Regions from separate parts of the Homo sapiens genome. Here region 1 is linked to region 2. The links are contacts of gene promoters, found by promoter capture Hi-C in blood cells and fetal thymus (Javierre and others, 2016). All regions are on one chromosome and are shown on one strand. The core of a region is centred on a gene start or on the middle of the fragment in contact, and the rest is flanking DNA. Distances in the headings are between cores, read along the strand shown.

Region 1 (3,144 bases), core at 129-2,628, 910 kb after region 2:
TTCAGTATCACTGGGACAGGCCCAACAGTTTGTGGTTTTGTCAAGTACATGTGACTGTAATCACCAGGAAAGCTTGAGTAACACTGGTGCGATGATACAAGCATGAGCTCTGGGGTCAGAAGGACTTGGGTGCAGATCTGGCTCTGCCTTTTTTCTAGTTGTGCACCCCTAGGAAAGGCAATTAAGGCCTTGAGTATCAGTTTATTCATCTATAAAATGAATATTAGTAATCATTAATAACCACCAAACAGGGGTGTGAAGACTGAATGATATAATGGGTGTGAAATGCTAGCACAGTGCCTGGCACATAGTAGGCACTTAATACATGGTCATTACTATTGTTAACTTAATCACCCACTCAGCTTAATGAATTTGCCCTATGTGACTTTTTGTTATTTCTAAAAATTAAATCCACAGTGAAAGGATATGAGGATACATAAAATACACTATCATAACGTATATTATACTTCATTAAAAAGTAAACAACTAAAGATCCTTAGGAAAAGTGATAGATGATAGATAGCCAGATAGGTAAATTTTAGGATAGGAAAATGTTCTAGAAATGAAAAACCAAACATTTAAAACAGTTTAACACTCAGGAGAATAACAAGTTTCTAGAAATACACACACACACACACACACACACACACACACACACACACACACACACACTGATACAAAAGGTAGAAACAATCCAAGGGCCCATCTGCAGATAAACAAAATGTGGTATATACATACAATAGAATATAATTCCATCTTTTTAAAAGGAAGGAAATTCTTTTTTTTTTCTTTGAGACAGGGTATCATTCTTTCCCCAGGCTGGAGTGCAGGGGCATGATCATGGCTCACTGCAGGCTCAATCTCCTGGGCTCAAGCCTTTTTAATTTTCTTGTAGAGATGGGGGTCTTGCAATGTTACCCAGGCTGGTCTTCAACTCTCAGCCTCTCCATCTTAGCCTCCCAAAGTGCCCGGGCGAAAGAAATACTGCCACATGCCATGACACGGATGAGCCAGAAAACACTACGCTAAGTGAAAGAAGCCAGTCAGTAAAGAATAATACTGAGCAATTCCACTCTATAAGGTGTCTAGAGTAGTAAAATTCATAGAGACAGAAAGTAAATGGTGGTTGCCAGGCACTGGGGGAAAGGGGAAATGGGAGTTACTGTTTAATGTGTCAGTATTTCCGTTTTGCAAGTTGAAAAGATTCTGGAGCTGGAGGGTAGTGATTGTTATATAACAATGTGAATGTACTCACTGCCACTGAACTGTACATTTAAAAATGGTTAAGATGGTAAATATTATGTTGTGTATTTTATCACAATTTTAAAAAAAATTAAGAAAATCAAGATGATATCAAATCACAGTTAAATATGAGTTTCAGAAATAGCTTGTTCGGTTTGTGTTGCTACAAAGAGCCCCATGTGAGTGAAATACTTCTAAGTGTACAGATTACATCCTTTGGAAAAATGAGCAAGTAAATTCACAAGTAATTTTGCATCTGTATTCTCAAACAATGTGACCGCACTGCCTTAGTTGCCTGTTTTTCTTTCAAACTATTCATTTACAAGATCACTCAAGAAATGTTACTCAGCTAAGTGGGAGGCTATGACTGGAAAACCTGTTCTGCCTTAACCCTGGCCTGGGGGATGCTTTGAAAAATGGCTGTGGTGCATGGAGCACTCTAAGGAAAACACTGAGGGGTGTTATCATCCTGTCTTAAGGCACTGTGATCTGTGCAGAGCTCTGCCCTGGGGCAGCTGGGCAAAGAGCAGGTGCATCCAAGGCTTGGCCTGTGGCCTGGATGACGTGGAACCCCCGTTACAATAGCCTGCAACAGCACAGGAGTAGTGGCTGTCGGGGGAGCTTCATCTGAACCCAAGCTGGTGAACGGGGCTTTGCCCCTCTGTTTTATTTATCTTTAATTGATTTTCTTTAACACTAGGTTTTCTTCAGGCCTCACATTTAATAAGATGGAGTATTTTTCTGATGAGTGTAAGCAGCATCTGAGCACTTCAAAGGTTCTCGAATAGAATAGCATTGGCTCTTTGTCTAATTTAACTTAAAAGTTATGACGAGGTGAAAGCTCATTTATATATTTAATATATTTCATGTCTTTCTTATTTATTTATTTTTTGAGACAGAATCTCACTCTGTCGTCCAGGCTAGAGTGCAGTGGCATGATCTCGACTCACTGCAAGCTCCACCTCCCAGGTTCACACCATTCTCCTGCCTCAGCCTCCCAAGTAGCTGGGACAACAGGCACCCGCCACCACGCCCAGCTAATTTTTTGTATTTTTAGTAGAGACGGGGTTTCACCATGTTAGCCAGGATGGTCTTCATCTCCTGACCTCGTGATCCGCCCGCCTCGGCCTCCCAAAGTGCTGGGATTACAGGTGTAAGCCACCGTGCCCGGCCTATTCTGCATTTTTTAAGCAAGGAAGCAAGCAAGCAAGGAGGAGGGAAGGAGATGGATTGCCTGAAATAATTGGGTGAAAGTTTGATGCTATCTTCCCTTCCCTCTTTAGGATTATGTGGCCCCTGGTGTAAAGAGATTGCCTGAGAGGAGCCTGGCAGAACTGTAGTGAAAGCATGGGGAAGTGTGGTGAAAACTGGATGCAAGGAGAACAAATGGAAAATAAAGGCAGGTGTGTTGGTTTCTCCCTTCCTCTGCCTCAGAAGCTTTATTGCTGCCTAGAGAAACCTGCTCAGGGTGGGGTGACATGTAAAACCAGCCAGCAGTATACACAGGTGTTCCTAGTGGGTCTTAATAACATTAAGTGTCTGTAACCCTGAGTGAAATTCTTTTTAAATTCTTTTTTCTTTTTTGAGACATGGTTTCACTCTGATATCCAGGTTGGAGTGCGGTGGCACAATCTTGGCCCACTGCAGCTTCGACCTCCTAGGCTCAGGCGATCCTCCCACCCCAGCTTTCTGAGTAGTTGGGACCACAGGTGCATGCCACCACACCCAGTTAATTTTTCTATTTTTTGTACAGGTGGGGTTTTGCCATGTTGCCAGGCTGGTCTCAAACTCCTGGGCTCAAACGATCCTTCTGCCTTGGCTTCCCAAAGTGCTGGGATTACAGGTGTGAGCCACTGTGCCCGGCCCTGAGGGAAATTCTTTAAAAGCAAAATTCACAAACTT
Region 2 (3,385 bases), core at 194-2,693:
CAGCACTTTGGGAGGCCGAGGCGGGCGGATCAAGAACTCTGGAGTTAGAGACCAGCCTGACCAACATGGTGAAACCCCGTCTCTACTAAAAATTCAAAAATTAGCTGGGCGTGGTGGCGCACGCCTGTAATCCCAGCTACTCGGGAGGCTGAGGCAGAGGAATCGCTTGAAACCGAGAGGCGGAGGTTGCAGCGAGCCGAGATCGCGCCACTGCACTCCAGCCTGGGCGGGCGACAAAACGAGATTCCGTCTCAAAAAAACAACTTGTCTGCACCCCTGGTAATAACCTCTCACACCCTTCACAGTCATTTTACGCCCCTCCCCCCATTTTCTTTCTTTCTGTGTTCAAATTATAGTTGGAAGGAATAAAGCAGCTTCTTTCACGCCGACTTAACCTATTAGGAATACCATATAGTGTCTCCTATGGCAACCTCTATTTTGAGTCTAGATAAGAAATCCTCAAACATCTGGGTCTAAACTGTCGCGGGCATCAGCTATCTTCACGGATGGGAGGAAGGAACAATCAGACCCTTACCTGGTTCCTTCACTTAGGTACCATCTGGATGGGTTAAGGGAGGGAATGGGATGAGTACTCCGAAGTTGAGGTATTTGAGTTTCCATTGAGAAAAGGAAAACAATATACCCCAAAAGTCTTAGCAAAGTCCCACCAGACAATGAACAGAGCTACAAACAAGAAGGGCGGCGGACTAGAGGGTCCCACGCCGGCTTGGGAGAATGGGAAGCGGGAGCAAGAACTGGGCGTTACGGTAAGGAGGAGGAAAAGAAACTGGCCAGACGCAGCAGGGCAAGAATAAGGGGTGGGGACGCGAGGCAGAACCAGCCTTCGTCCCGGGGCCGGCTACCGGCAGGAAGGAGCCCGAGGCGGCGGATGCCTCCCGGGGGACTCTGGGGGAGGAGGCGGGCAGAGGTGAGCCCGAGGGCGGATGGCATCCGCCGCCTCCTTACCTTCGGGCATCTCGCGGTCGCTGATGTGCTGCAGGTGGTGGCCCTCGCCCTCTCCGAAATCCAACTCGGCAGGCTCCACCACAGCGGGCGCTACCGCCACCGCGTCCCCGGACACCGCCTCGTAGATGTCGGACGCGCAGTACAGCTCCGCCGACCCCGCGCGCCGGCCCAGCTTGGGGCTGGCATTGGGGGACACGCAACAGGTCAGCGTGTTCCCCATGGGAAGCCTCCGCTCCTCTCTGCCACCGCCTTCGCTCGCCCCCTACTCCGCCGCCCTCAACAGCCGCCCCCTCCCCCAACAATGGCGCGGCCGGCACCGGCAGCCCCGGGCTACGCTGGGGCTGCACCGCGCAAGCAGACGCCGCCTCGCCCGCGGTTCGCCCGCCCGCCCCGCGGCCCGGCCCCGGGCAGGGCTCGGGCCTCGGCCGCACCCCCACCGCCGCGCTGCCGCCGCCTCCCTTAAGCTGACTCGTCTGCGAGGGCGGTGACCAGCCCGGCTTATTTAAAAGGGGTGGGGAACCCAACAAGCGCTGTGAAGCACAGCCACTGCCGGGAGAGAGCGCGGCTGGAGCTCCTCCTCCTTCCGCCGCCGCCTACCGACTGAAGGCCGCTGGCCCTGGCCGGTGCCTGCCAACCGGAACGCGACCTGCGGTCACCTGGTTAGGAGGAACCAATCATGGTCAGAGTTCCCCCTCCGGCGCCCGCCTCGAAGCCAGGCACGTGACCTGCTGCCCCGCCCCCGCCTGGCAGCTGCCCAGCCCCTCACGCCGCTATCCCAGACTCGGGTTTTCATTCATCGCTGGCTGCTGGGAGCTTTCCGGTCCTACTGGAAGCGCACGGGCATTTGTAACTGGAAGCTGTGTCAATGATCTCTGTAGAAAGCCGTTATTAGTAAAGAGTTCGCTCCATTAGCAACTCTTCTTCCGAGTCTGACAGCTTTCGTTTGCTCACTAAACTTGGTTACACCCAAATTGTTAACTGTTTTTGTAACTCAGTGCTCCGCTCCTGTCTTCCAATGAGCGTTAGTTTTCACCTGCAACGTGATCATAGCAACCCTGGGGCCCTGGTCCTACTCTCCATAAAGAGTTGTGGCTGTGGGTCTTGAATGAGACTCGAGGACACGTCACCCTTCCACTTCCTCATCCATAAAATAGGGACCTAACTCGTCCCTGCCAACTCTGAAATGCTGGGACTCGCCAACTCCCTTTTCTTGCCTGTTTCTCTCCTCTAGGCAGGGACTTCCAGGTTTCTCTTCTTGTACTAAAAACAGCACAGAAAGCACGATTTTCTCACGCAAAACTGAGAACCATGCAGTGGGGCACCACAGTCTTGATTCCATGAAGATGAATAGTTACCATTTGGCAAGCACTATGTGCCAGACAGTGTTCCAACTGTGGTATATTTATTTAACCCTTAAAAACAATCCCGGCCGGGCGCGGTGGCTCATGCCTGTAATCCCAACACTTTGGGAGGCCGAGGCGGGCGGATCACCAGGTCAGGAGATCCAGACCATCCTGGCTAACACGGTGAAATCCCGTCTCTACTAAAAATACAAAAAATTAGCCGGGCATGGTGGCACGCGCCCGTATTCCCAGCTACTCGGGAGGCTGAGGCAGGAGAATCACTTGAACCCGGGAGGCAGAGGTTGCCGTAAGCCGAGATCGCGCCATTGCACTCCAGCCTGGGCGACCTAGGCTCCGTTTCAAAAAAATAAAACATAAAAATAAAAATAAATAAACAAATATATATATATACACACAATGTCACTTCCTCCCTAAGCTTGATTTCTACCTTTATTTTCTGATCATCATGATCAGGGACCCTCACCCTGAGCAGTCATGTAAGCTTGCGGAAGTAACTTAACTTCTGCGTCCCAATTTCTTCTATAAAACCTGCAAAATGGGATTGTTTTTTTTTTGTTTTTTTTTTTTTGAGACGGAGTTTTGCTCTTGTTGGGCGCGGTGGCTCACGTCTGTAATCCCAGCACTTAGAGAGGCAGAGGCGGGTGAATTGCTTGAGGTCAGGAGTTCAAGACCAGCCTGACCAACATGGAGAAACCCCGTCTCTACTAAAAACACAAAAATTAGCCAGGCATGGTGGCGTCCACCCATAGTCCCAGCTACTAGGGAGGCTGAGGCAGGAGAATCTCCTGAACCTGGGAGGCAGAGATTGCAGTGAGCCAAGATCAGTCCACTGCACTCCAGCCTGGGCGACAGAGCAAGACTCCGTCTCAAAGAAAAAAAAAATTGTCTGAAACCCTAGGAATGTCATTAGATACCATTTTGGATGATTCTTGTAGACTTGAGACGATGCCTATTTTAAGGTACAAAATAATGCCTGCATTTAACAACAGACATACACAAAAATAGATATCTACGACCTTGAAAACTGAAGAATTTAAAACTTGCTAACCAGGAAG

What was found. The method cuts DNA at HindIII sites, captures the fragments that hold promoters and counts their contacts. A CHiCAGO score of 5 or more calls a contact.
Region 1: a fragment that was not itself captured here is called in contact with the fragment with the promoter of CCNYL1 in region 2 in 2 of 17 cell types (erythroblasts and monocytes); the score reaches 5.7 in erythroblasts.

The regions. Positions count from the first base shown.
Region 1 is chr2:206,796,188-206,799,331 of GRCh38, reverse strand. FASTKD2 (FAST kinase domains 2) reads right to left here. Exons shown (of 12, transcript NM_001136193.2): 12 at 3,143-3,144. Among named protein-coding and RNA genes, the nearest start is that of MIR3130-1, 14 kb to the right of the region's middle. The HindIII fragment of the contact is 2,607 bases long and covers 75-2,681 here.
Region 2 is chr2:207,709,698-207,713,082 of GRCh38, reverse strand. It overlaps CCNYL1 (cyclin Y like 1), which reads right to left and starts at 1,443. Exons shown (of 10, transcript NM_001330218.2): 1 at 967-1,443. The coding sequence starts at 1,186. RefSeq lists silencers at 620-779, 792-901, 1,322-1,771 and enhancers at 643-1,639, 1,992-2,041, 2,052-2,251. The HindIII fragment of the contact is 3,390 bases long and covers 1-2,747 here.